Regions from separate parts of the Homo sapiens genome. Here regions 1, 3 and 4 are each linked to region 2. The links are contacts of gene promoters, found by promoter capture Hi-C in human tissues and cell types (Jung and others, 2019). All regions are on one chromosome and are shown on one strand. The core of a region is centred on a gene start or on the middle of the fragment in contact, and the rest is flanking DNA. Distances in the headings are between cores, read along the strand shown.

Region 1 (3,156 bases), core at 178-2,677, 560 kb after region 2:
GGCAGAGGTTGCAGTGAGCCGAGATTGCACCATTGTACTCCAGCCTGGGCGACAGTGAGAGACTGTCTCAAAAATAAAAATAAAAATAAAGTTCTGTTGAAGATAAGCTCACAATCCAAAATATAAAAATGTATGCAAAACTAATCCATTACAAACAAGATGACAAATTCAACAAATAGCAGGATAAGACCCCCTGAAAAAAAGTCCCTATAAGATACAAGCATATCTCAAATGATTAAAGCCAAAAAGAAAGAATTAAAAACACAAGAAAAGAACACTACCAAACAAGAAATAGTAACAGGCAGATAAAACTTGTAGAAAAATAGTTATTGAAAGAAAAAACTCAACAGATGGGTCACACAGAGAGGAGACCAAGTTAAAGAGGAAATTGATGAACTAGAGAACAGATCTGAGAAAATTACCATCAAAGTGCTTCTACAAGAGAAAACATGGAAATGAAAAATGAGAAAGAAGCTTGAGAAGAAAAGAATGGAGGAGAGGAAATATTTAAAGGGATAACTAAAAATTTTCTATATAAGACTGATTAAAGATACAAAATTTCGGCCGGGCGTGGTGGCTCATGCCTATAATCCCAGCACTTTGGGAGGCCAAGTTGGGCAGATCATGAGGTCAGGAGATCGAGACCATCCTGGCTAACACTGTGAAACCCCATCTCTACTAAAAATACAATTAGCTGGGCGTGGTGGCGGGCGCCTGTAGTCCCAGCTACTCGGGAGGCTGAGGCAGGAAAATCGCTTGAACCTGAGAGGCGGGGGTTGCAGTGAGCCGAGATCATGCCACTGCACTCCAGCCTGGGTGACAGAGTGAGACTGTCAAAAAAAAAAAAAAAAAGATACAAAATTTCCAGATAATAAGAAGCCCACACCTAGGTACACTGTATGAAACTGCAGAGTGACAAAGGCAAAAAGATTTTTAAATATGTTCCAGTTGGGAAGACGGACAATTAACAAGCAAAATTATAATTTCACTAGCAGTAATAAGCTCCATGAGGATAATAAAACACGATAATGAGACAAAGAGTTTTAGATAGGGTGGTCAGGAAAGGCCACTCTGAGTAGGTGACATCTGAGTAGAGCCCTGACTGCTGAAAAAGAGCCAGCTTAACCAGACCGGTGAGAACAGTGTTCCAGGAAGAAGAAATATCAAATCCACGCAAAAACACCAGGGCAGAAACAAGCTTGGTGTGCTCAAGGAAGAGAAAGAAGACTAGTGTAGCTGAGTACAGTGATCTCAGGGAAAGCAGTGTGAAAGGGGAGCTAAGAATTCAGCTGAGGTCAGATCTCATAGGCTTTGTATAACAATTAAAATAATCTCCAGGCTGGGTGCAGTGGCTCATGCCTGTAATCCCAGCACTTTGGGAGGCTGAGGCAGGTGGATCACCTGAGGTTACGAATTCGAGACCAGCCTGGCCAACATGGCGAAAACCCATCGCTATTAAAAATATTTAAAAAATTAGCCATGCGTGGTTGTGCGCACCTGTAGTCCCAGCTACTCAGGAGGCTGAGGCACAAGAATCACTTGAACCCAGGCGGTGGAGGTTGCAGCAAACCGAGATTGTGCCACTGCACTCCAGCCTGAGCAACAGAGCAAGACTCCGTCTCAGTAAAAAATAAATAATAAAATAAAATAAAATAATCTCCAAAGTACCACAGTTTATGAATTCATTGTTGGCTTTGGCTAGTCCCTCCCTTAGGTTATGGTGGAGACTTGAATAAATATATAAATATTTTTGCAACTCTCATACTTATTCTTTACCTTGAGCCTTTATTTATCCCCCCCAGCCAGGTTGTGGCTGCTCTTGCAGAGTAAGCAACAAAACAAACTTTCCTTCCATTCTTGAACCAGGAATGGCTTTCTAGAAAGGAGACCAAAGTCTAGCACTGCATATCTACTAGGAAAAAGTTCTAAATGATTTTGGTAATGCTCTGTAGCTAAAGGATAACGCAGTTTTCATAAAGCAGACATTTGAAATGGCTAAATAAGACAGCAAACAACTTTAACTTAGAATCAGCTATTTTTGTTCTATCCTAGATAGAATCTTCAAGTTCTGAAAATGCAGCACTTTCAAGCCCAGGTCCTTAGAAACATATTTGTAGGTGGTAAGGAGGCAAAGCTTCATGTATTCACCTATATTTTTACCTATATTTTTACAATTAGAAAGTTAAGATCAGCCAGGTGTGGTGGCTCATGCCTGTAATCCCAGCACTTTGGGAGGCCGAAACAGGCGGATCATGAGATCAGGAGATCAAGACCATCCTGGCTAACACTGTGAAACCCCGTCTCTACTAAAAAATGCAAAAAATTAGCCGGGCGTGGTAGCTACTCGGGAGGCTGAGGCAGGAGAATGGCATGAACCCAGGAGGCAGAGGTTGCAGTGAGCCGAGATCGCACCACTGCACTCCAGCCTGGGTGACAGAGTGAGACTGTCTCAAAAAAAAAAAAAGAAAGAAAGAAAGTTAAGATCACGTTCTCCCTGATAGTATTGGTTTTGTTTTTTTTTTCCTGAGGCAGGGTCTCTGTCACTCAGGCTAGAGTACAGTGGCACGATCTCGGCTCACTGCAACCACCACCTCCCAGGTTCCAGTGATTCTCCTGCCTCAGCCTCCCGAGTAGCTGGGACATCAGGCGTGCACCACCACGCCCAGCTAATTTTTTGTATTATTAATAGAGACAGGGTTTCACCATATTGGCCAGGCTGGTCTCGCACGCCTGACCTCAGGTGATCCGCCCACCTCGGCCTCCCAAAGTGCTGGGATTACAGGCGTGAGCCACCGTGCCTGACCACTATTGGTTTTTTAGACTGTTCAAAGACCTGAGGGAAATAAAGAGAACTGTTCAAGGGCACACATTTTCAAATTGGGTAGAAGGAGAGTACAGAAGGGCTGAGGATGAAGAAAGTAAGCTCAAGAAGGGGGATGATGCAGCAGGAGTCCTGGCCTATTGCTTCCCATGTGTTAGTCTAGTCTCCCCTCTCTTTTTTTTCCCCCTCTGGAAACAGGGTCTCACTCTGTCACCAAGGCTAGAGTGTAGTGGCACGATCATAGCTCACTGCAGCCTCAACTTCCCAGGCTCAAGCAATCCTCCCACCTCAGCCTCCCAATTAGCTAGGACCACAGGCATACGCCACCACACCCA
Region 2 (2,823 bases), core at 209-2,708:
TTTCTCCATGTTGGTCAGGCTGGTCTCTAACTCCCAACCTCAGGCAATCCGCTTGCCTCAGCCTCCCAAAGTGCTGGGATTACAGGCGGGAGCCACTGTGCCTGGTCACATTCAGCTCTTAAATGTGACTTTGCCAGGCATTATTTGATTAGGAGCATTTGACTTCCCGAATCTTTCTTGCAGGCATCGTGACATTAGCTGGCATTATCTTAGCAAGGATAATGGTTTTTTTGTTTTTTGTTTTGTTTTGTTTTGTTTTGTTTTGTTTTGAGATGGAGTCTCACTCTGTAGCCCAGGCTGGAGTGCAGTGGCACGATCTTAGCTCACTGCAAGCTCCGCCTCCTGGGCTCAAGTGATTCTTCTGCCTTAGCCTCCCAAGTAGCTGGGATTACAGGCACGCGCCACCATGCCCAGCTAATTTTTGTATTTTTAGTAGAGACGGGGTTTCACCATGTTGGCTAGGCTGGTCTTGAACTCCTGACCTCATGATCTGCGCGCCTCGGCCTCCCAAAGTGCTGGGATTACAGGTGTGAGCCACCGCGCCCGGACTAGCAAGAATAATGTTAAGCCAACTCCAAACCTCTCTTAATAAAATTGGGCAATGGGGTGGGTTGTACCTGGGTGGGTCTGAGTTTCTGCTACAGTAGGCCCTCAATAAATGTTTGTTGGGCCCGGCGCCCTGGCTCAGGCCTGTAACCCAACACTTTGGGAGGCTGAGGCGGGTGGATCACCTGAGATCAGAAGTTTGAGACTAGCCTGGTCAACATGGTGAAACCCTGTCTCTACTGAAAATACAAAAGTTAGCTGGGCGTGGTGGCAGGCGCCAGTAGTCCCAGCTGCTTGGGAGCCTGAGGCAGAATCGCTTGGACCCGGGAGGCGGAGGTTGCAAGTGAGCGCCACTGCACTCCTGCCTGAGCGACAAGAGCGAAACTGTCTCAAAAAAAAAAAAAAAAAGCTTTTCGAATTCAATATAATGGGCTTTATGGGATGGGGTGACATGGATGATCTTTGAGTAGTGATTAGATTTTCACCTTGTATCAATACACTATATAATTCCTTAAAATAAATAAACGTACATACTTCAGAACAGGAACTTTATACTTCCTAAGGGAAATAATCTTGGATGGAGGTGATTTGCCACAGAGGAAATGCATAATTGGTACTCAAGTGGAAATGATTATTATTTGTGATGCAACGTCACATGCTACCTAGTTCAGTGCTCTGTGAATTAGGTGATGCAAACAGAATATTGTTGCTTGGAACGGTAGCAATTTTGCTGTTTTTAAAAGGCGGCGAAGAGAGCGTCCCCTTCCAAGGAGAAAATCTGGTGAGATTCCTTTAAAGTGCGGCCCGCGCGCCCCGCAGCCTGCCCCGGAGCTGCAGGGTTTGCGCCCCGCGGAGGTGAGGGCCGCTAAACCACATTTCCCGGCGAGCCCCTCAGGCTGCCGCGCCTGCGCAGTGGTGGCGTCCGAGGCCGGCCGAACTCCCGCGCTCTCCCGCCGCCTCGCCTCGCCTGGTGTCTCTCCCGACCATGGAGGGGGTCGCGGTGGTGACGGCGGGCAGCGTAGGCGCTGCCAAAACCGAGGGAGCTGCAGCCTTGCCGCCTCCGCCTCCTGTCTCCCCGCCCGCCCTCACCCCTGCACCCGCAGCGGGTGAGGAGGGACCGGCGCCTCTGTCTGAGACGGGGGCTCCCGGCTGCTCCGGCTCCCGGCCCCCTGAGCTGGAGCCGGAGCGCAGCCTGGGCCGCTTCAGAGGCCGCTTCGAGGACGAGGACGAGGAGTTGGAAGAAGAAGAGGAGCTGGAGGAGGAAGAAGAGGAGGAGGAGGAGGACATGAGTCACTTCTCGTTGAGGCTGGAGGGAGGCCGGCAGGACTCGGAGGACGAGGAGGAGGTATTTAGAGCCCCCGCGCGACCCCGCTGGGCCCAAGCGGCGTCAGGGACGTAGCTGGCCCTCGTCTGCCGGGCGCCGGCCCGATCCTAGTGCGCCGCCGCCGCGCGGAGCACTGGAGCGGACCTCCCCCGACCTCTGCCCCGGCTGCCTAGGCGTGTGGCGCCGACAGGCCTCCGGCCCGGCCTGGGTCTTTACCCGCTTATTTTGTGAAGTTCTTGCAGGTCACTTAGGCTCTGCGAGTCCAACTCATTCGTTCTGTTAATAATTATAATTATTTTGAGACAGGGTCTCCCAGGCTGGAGTGCAGTGGCGCGACCATGGCTCACTGCAGCCTCCAACTCCTGGCCTCAGGCGATCCTCCCGCCTCAGCCTCCGGAGTAGCTGGGACTACAGGCACGCGCCACCACGCCGGGCTAATTAAACATTTTTTTTTTTTTTTGTAGCGAGGAGGGCTCCCTATGTTCCCAGGCTGTTCTCGAACTCCTGGGTTCAAGAGATTCTCCCTCTCTGGCCTTCCGAAAGATTACATGCGTGAGCCACGTTGCCTGTCCTGTATAATTATTGAAGCTACTGCTTACTAGGCAGTAAAGATCCTTTTGTTTTGTTTTGTTTTGTTTTGTTTTTGAGACGGAGTCTCGCTCTGTCGCCCAGGCTGGAGTGCAGTGGCGCGATCTCGGCTCACTGCAACCTCCGCCTCCCAGGTTCAAGCGATTCTCCAGCCTCAGCCTTTAGAGTAGCTGGGACTACAAGGCGCCCGCCACCACGCCCGGCTTATTTTTTGTATTTTTAGTAGAGACGGGGTTTCACCGTGTTAGCCAGGATGGTCTCGATCTCCTGACCTCGTGATCCGCCCGCCTCGGCCTCCCAAAGTGCTGGGATTACAGGCGTGAGCCACTGCGCCCAGCGTAAAGATCCTTTTGAAACAATAATTT
Region 3 (2,954 bases), core at 455-2,954, 840 kb after region 2:
CTAAAGGACCCATCCTGGAGGAACCTGGGTGAAAGGTAACTAAACAGAGGCCACATCTCTCCAGAATGAGACTAAGGGATGGACAGCTAAGGCTGCCCAACTCTGCAAGCCCAAGAGGCTCCCTTCTCCTACCCCTGAAAGACTGGGCCTCTTTTAGAAATAAAACAGACTGGATGGTTACCCATTTTGCTTTCTCCTGTTTCAAATTACCGATCCCAAATGAGATTGGCAGGGATTGTCTCTCTTCTGTGGTGCCTGTATACATGCCAAGCTTCAAGGCAAGAGGTACATCAGTCAATCAATTGGCCTCTGTTGAAAGACCATCCCAAGCATCCCCAATGGGCATTGTTCCTGGAAGCAGAGGCTCTGCTCCACTCCAGCCTCTTAGACAGCTAATTCCTGAAAGACTATATTGTGCCCTATGTTAATTACAGTTTGTTCTAAACAAACCCAAAGCCTCTAGTCTGTGCTGACACCAGCCTGCACCCCATAGACCAAAGCTGGTCTCTTATCATTGCAAGTGACAAAGGCCAAACTTAGGCTTAACTTAGTTCTGCACAGAGAACTGCAGAAGGAGTCAAACTGCGCCCTGTGAGCATCTGCACCCAGAAAATGATCCCAGGAGAGACTGCCACATCAAAGGTAGAGCTGGGATGGTAAATGATTTGGGGCCTCTCAGGACCACATTAAATTTCCCCCACCATTCAACTGAGAAGGAGTTGCGGAAGAGATTCAGTTATTATCTCACTCTGAGGATTTAATACAATAAGAGTTCCCTTTAGTAATCAGTGCTTTTTAAAAAAAATCCTGTTTTGGCCGGGCACGGTGGCTCACACCTGTAATCTCTGCACTTTGGGAGGCCGAAGTGGGTGGATTACTTGAGGTCAGGAGTTTGAGACCAGCCTGGCCAACATGGTGAAACCCCATCTCTACTAAAGATACAAAAAATTAGCCAGGTGTGGTGGCAGGTGCCTGTAATCCCAGCTATTTGCTATTTGAGAGGCTGAGGCAGGAGAATCGCCTGGACAACAGAGGCAGAGGTTGCAGGGAGCCAAGATTGCGCCACTGCACTCCAGCCTGGGTGACAGAGTGAGACTTTGTCTAAAAAAAAAAAAAAAAAAAAAAATGGATAAGAAATTTTGGTAGCTAGAGAAATAGACCAAATAGAAACCATCAGTGGAAGGAAGTCTGCATTTAGCCCACAAACACGGCATTTGAGCTGCCTCAAACATCTGACCATTCCACAGACTGCAAAAGCTTCACCTGCCCCTGGGACATCGATGGAGTACACTTTGCAACTGGGATAGCATGCTGGTGGAAAGCTAACAACCAAATAAAAGACATGTTACAAGTGATCCCAGTCAATGGTGCCAGCACCAGGCAATTTAAACACTATTTAAAACCAGTTGGTCTTGTTTCGTCCTCTTTCACCAGGATATTATTTGCCTTTGTGGATAGAAATCCCTATTCTCTGTTAGGAAATGCTAAGTTATTTATAGAACTTTTAAGAAAGTTGCTACAAATAGCTTAGCATCTCAACAGAGGAAGAGGGACAACTCTCCATGTCTGCCTTAACTGATTTCAACAAATCACTTGACTAATTCTACAACAGGTTGGATTTAGAAAAGTTTGTGGGGCAAGGGAAGAAAGAAAAGAGTAGAGATCCCTGGAAAGACCCCATTAGAGCTACAGAACTCCAGAGCAGATGAGAGCCACTACAGGCCCCATACCTGCTCCAGTTTCCTGCTGCAAATTTCCAAACCTGCCCCGCTACAGCCTAGGTCCATCCTGCACCAAGCTGCAAAACTGTGTTTACCATTCTCTGCTCCATCTGCAGCATCCCTGCAGCCCTCTTTCTCACCAAGTCTCCCACAAGGTGTCACATCAAGGAGAGAAGCTTAACCTTCAAACTCCAACTGCAAGGAACTACCAAGAGTCAGATAAAATTAACCCTGTCCCCAAGCACAGAGTATTCTGTTTACTTACTACTCAGAGGCCAGATGAGTATGTGGAAAAAAATCGCATTTTACACTTAGCAAATGATGTTATCCAAGGTCCCAGGGCATCCCTCAACTTAATTCCTTGAACACCCAACTTCTCTCTGCAGGGCAGTTGCAGGACTGAAGTGGGCCATGAGTACAGGTTCTGCCTCTCTGCTTTGATCCTTGCTCACCAAAGTCTCAGCTTTCAGTTAGAATGTCCCCACTACTCAGGGATCACCAGTCACAGAGCCACACTGCTATTGCAAAATGAATCCCAAGCTACCCTGGGCCACAGACAGACCCAGACAGCCTGGGTCAGTCATCCTGCTAGAAACCTCGTGGGATCCCAAATGTGAGGAATATAAATGAATTTCAGGATCTTATTTTTGCAAACCCCTCCACATCTTAGAAAGTACCAGTCACTGATGGCTGGTCGCACTGGCTCACGCCTGTAATCCTAGCACTTTGGGAGGCCGAGGTGGGTTGATCACTTGAGGTCAGGAGTTCGAGACCAGCCTGGCCAACATGGTGAAACTCTGCCTCTACTAAAAATACAAAAATTAGCTGGGCAAGGTGGCGTGTGCCTGTAATATCAGCTACTTGGGAGGCTGAGGCACGAGAATCGCTTGAAACCGGGAGACAGAGGTTGCAGTAAGCCAAGATCGTGCCACTGCACTCCAGCCTGGGTGACAGAGCAAAACTCTGTCTCAAAAAAAAAAGAAAGTACCAGTCACTGTGCTGTTTCTCTTTATACTTTTCTGCATCTAGGAAGGGCTTTCACAAAGTGCTGTATAATCCCTTTTCTTCATTATCACATGTTGGCCCATCTCTGAAGATATGGCTGTTAACAAGCTTGCAGCAGGAAGGAAAAAAAAATTGCCCTTAGTCCTTTGCACATGCTTTCATACCTTTTACATACAATTCTATCCTTTATGGCTACTTGGGTGACATAAAAATAGTTGCCTGAATCTG
Region 4 (2,822 bases), core at 323-2,822, 690 kb after region 2:
GGGAGGACCCTGACCACCACAATGGCAGCACTTCTCTAAACCCAGGATATGGGAGAATAGAGTTAAAAATGCAAATTCCTGGGCTCTCAGAGATTCCCGATGAGTCTAAGCTAGGCCTCAGGAATCAGCACCCTTACCCTTTTTTTTTTTTTTTTTTTGAGACAGGGTCTTGCTCTGTTGTTTTGTTGCACAGGCTGGAGTGCAGTGACTTGATCTAGACCTACTGCAACCTCTGCCTCCCAGGCTCAAGCAGTTCTCCCACCTCAGTCCCAGAGTAGCTGGGACCACAGGTGTGGTGTGCCCCACCACGCCCAACTAATTCTTGTATTTTTTGTAGAAACAGGGTTCCGACATGTTGCCCAGGCTGGTCTCAAACCCCTGAGCTCAGGCAATTTGCCTTGGCCTCCCAAAATGTCAGGATTACAGGCGTGAGCCACAGCAAGGAATCGGCCCTTTTAACAAGCTCCCAAGACATGCTTGAGACTTTGAGAAGCTCTGCCGAAGTGGATGGGGGCAGGATGTCTTTTTCATCTTGCCACCCCACCTCCACCCCTCCCAAGGCCAAAGCCCCAAGTCCAAAGGAAGTATGGACCTGAGTGGTCCCCTCTCCCTATGGGGTCCAAGGCCCAGCTAGATTACATTCTGTCTCTATGCCTGCAGCCCTGCACAGTGCCTGGCACGTAGTGTGCACTCAAATATTTGTGGCCTGAAGGAGGTAAACTTTGCAAGACTCATAGAAAGGTGTTCCTCCTTCGTCCTCAGCTAAGAGCACATTGGCAGAACCTCAAAGAGATGCCGGGGCCCAGGTGGCATGGGGCTGGGCCTGGGAGGCCCTGGGCAAATATTTGTCAAATGAACCCAAGGCCAAGAGCAGACGGAGTCAGTGCCCGACGAACTGACATTCACAGGCCTGGAACCAGCTGGACCCAGGGGAGCAAAATCAAGGCAAGGAGGGCAGGGGCCCCTCCCCACACCGACGCCTGAAGATCCCAGGCCTGGGGGGGATAGGGGAACAGGCGAGGCAGGGAGTGGGACTGCGCCATCATGTTTATTAGAAGGTTGGATTTTGGTGTGTGCTCTAGACAGATACAGAATAAATACCTGCGCCTTGAGAACAGGAAGTCCACGATTCATACAAAGTGCTCACTACAGGAAGTTGCTGTGTCAAAATCCAGGCAAGGACCCAACTCCGGGCAGCCCCTCCTCCCTGCTGACCTCAACAAGGGCTGTGCTATTGTTTTTTATTTTATTATTTTATTTCTCTTTATTATTATTAATATTATTATTATTTGCTTTTGCTGTGGTCACTATCATTGGCAAAGTTCCTTTTCCCCTTTCCTGGACATAGGGGTCCTGTCTTTAAAAGATTCCACTCTGAGGCTGAAGGTGCCAAAAGCTGCTTGAGAAGTGGCCTTTGAACTCCGTCTGGGAAGATGGTGAGGAGAAGGAAGCAGGAGAAATCATTCTTGGTTTAAAAAAATTTAAAAAAACAAAAACAAAAGTCGCACAATCTAAAGGTCATTCCTTACTCGATCAGTGATCAAACTGCCCAAAAGGAAAACAAGAGGAGAAACAAGCCCGGGGCCCTGGGCGTTCCTCCCGGGTGGGGTAAGAAGGGTGGGACCCCCAAGCTTTCAGGGAAGCCGAGGTTCCTTCCAGCCACGGGGGTGTGAAGGGGAAGGAGTAGAGGAAAAAAGGAGAAACAGAGAGAGAGCTCAGCGCCTCGACACAGACACTTTCCCATCTCCAGGGCCACCTGCCGTCCTGGCCCAGGCCAGCTCCCACTGTCACCTCTGCGTCCAGGAGATTCATAATAAAAAAAAATCAAAAACAAAGCCAAAACCAAAACAAAATCCAAAAGGAAAAGACCTGGGGCAATGGAATGAGGAAGAGGGGAGGCGAGGAAGGTAGAAGGGCAGGTCTCTGGATGCATAACTCCCGAGCCCGGGGGCTGGGGAGGAAGATTCCCCAGCGCCCCGCCGCCTGCGTGGCGTTAGCTCGTCACGTAGTGTTTGGTGGACGGCTGCCCATACACCCTGTAGAAATCCTGGTGGCCGGGCTGCTGGGAGGCGTCAAGCCAGTCTCTGACCGCCAGGCTGGGAAGGGACTGGGGGACGGAGGGTGTGGGCGGGAGCGGGTGTGAGTACTCCTGCGAGGGCACTGTCCAGGGAAAGTGGCCGGAGCGGGGGTAGGGCTGGTGGCCGCCATGGTTGGCCACGGAAGAACAGTAACAGTTGTCCACAGAACAGACGAGAATCTTGCGGCCGCCATACTGGGGGAGCATGGGCTGCTGGGCGGCGGAGCCATTGGGATACTGCGATGGGGGGAACACGGGGCTTGAGTGCACTGGTTGGGCGCCGCCCGGCAGGGCCACCAAGTGCTGCGTGGAGCTGCAGGGCCCCAGGGGCTGCCCAGACTGGCCCTCACCGCTGGCTGTGCCCGCCGCCCCGTACTGGCCGCCCACAGGGCCCGACGACGTCTCTAGGAAACTGGCCTCTGGGAAGGCCGTTGAGTGCTTGCGCTTTTCCGCCCCAGAGCTGCTCACGCCGCAAGGGTACAGGGGGACACTCTGCAGGAAGGGCACCGGCGTGCTGAAGGGGCCTGTGGAGAGTTGGGGCAAAAGTCGCCAAAGCTCCCACCCCAAGCAACCCAGGCCTCCTCTCCCTGGGTTGGACCTGGGGACCATTGACACCTAGAGGCCCAAGAATGTTACATCTCAGGTGATGCTTGCTCCTCTACCATTAGGAGGTACAGAATAGTTATATCCCCACTTTAAGCTGAAGAAATGGAGGCTGGGGAGGTCATGTTGCTTACCCACTGTC

The links. The method cuts DNA at HindIII sites, captures the fragments that hold promoters and counts their contacts. A contact is called where the count stands out against the background at its distance.
Region 1: a fragment that was not itself captured here is called in contact with the fragment with the promoter of PCGF6 in region 2 in 1 of the 25 tissues and cell types used here (dorsolateral prefrontal cortex).
Region 3: a fragment that was not itself captured here is called in contact with the fragment with the promoter of PCGF6 in region 2 in 1 of the 25 tissues and cell types used here (dorsolateral prefrontal cortex).
Region 4: a fragment that was not itself captured here is called in contact with the fragment with the promoter of PCGF6 in region 2 in 1 of the 25 tissues and cell types used here (spleen).

What each region holds. Positions count from the first base shown.
Region 1 is chr10:102,787,444-102,790,599 of GRCh38, reverse strand. The region is part of intron 1 of WBP1L (WW domain binding protein 1 like); the gene reads right to left. Among named protein-coding and RNA genes, the nearest start is that of CYP17A1-AS1, 44 kb to the left of the region's middle. The HindIII fragment of the contact is 4,714 bases long and covers 1-3,156 here.
Region 2 is chr10:103,349,775-103,352,597 of GRCh38, reverse strand. PCGF6 (polycomb group ring finger 6) reads left to right here and starts at 1,458. Exons shown (of 10, transcript NM_001011663.2): 1 at 1,458-1,891. The coding sequence starts at 1,532. RefSeq lists a silencer at 1,330-1,559 and an enhancer at 1,725-2,230. The HindIII fragment of the contact is 14,072 bases long and covers 1-2,823 here.
Region 3 is chr10:102,506,134-102,509,087 of GRCh38, reverse strand. The region is part of intron 1 of SUFU (SUFU negative regulator of hedgehog signaling); the gene reads right to left. Among named protein-coding and RNA genes, the nearest start is that of SUFU, 3.6 kb to the right of the region's middle. The HindIII fragment of the contact is 3,584 bases long and covers 1-2,954 here.
Region 4 is chr10:102,656,526-102,659,347 of GRCh38, reverse strand. TRIM8 (tripartite motif containing 8) reads right to left here. Exons shown (of 6, transcript NM_030912.3): 6 at 1,030-2,601. The coding sequence ends at 1,994. Among named protein-coding and RNA genes, the nearest start is that of TRIM8, 13 kb to the right of the region's middle. The HindIII fragment of the contact is 6,582 bases long and covers 1-2,822 here.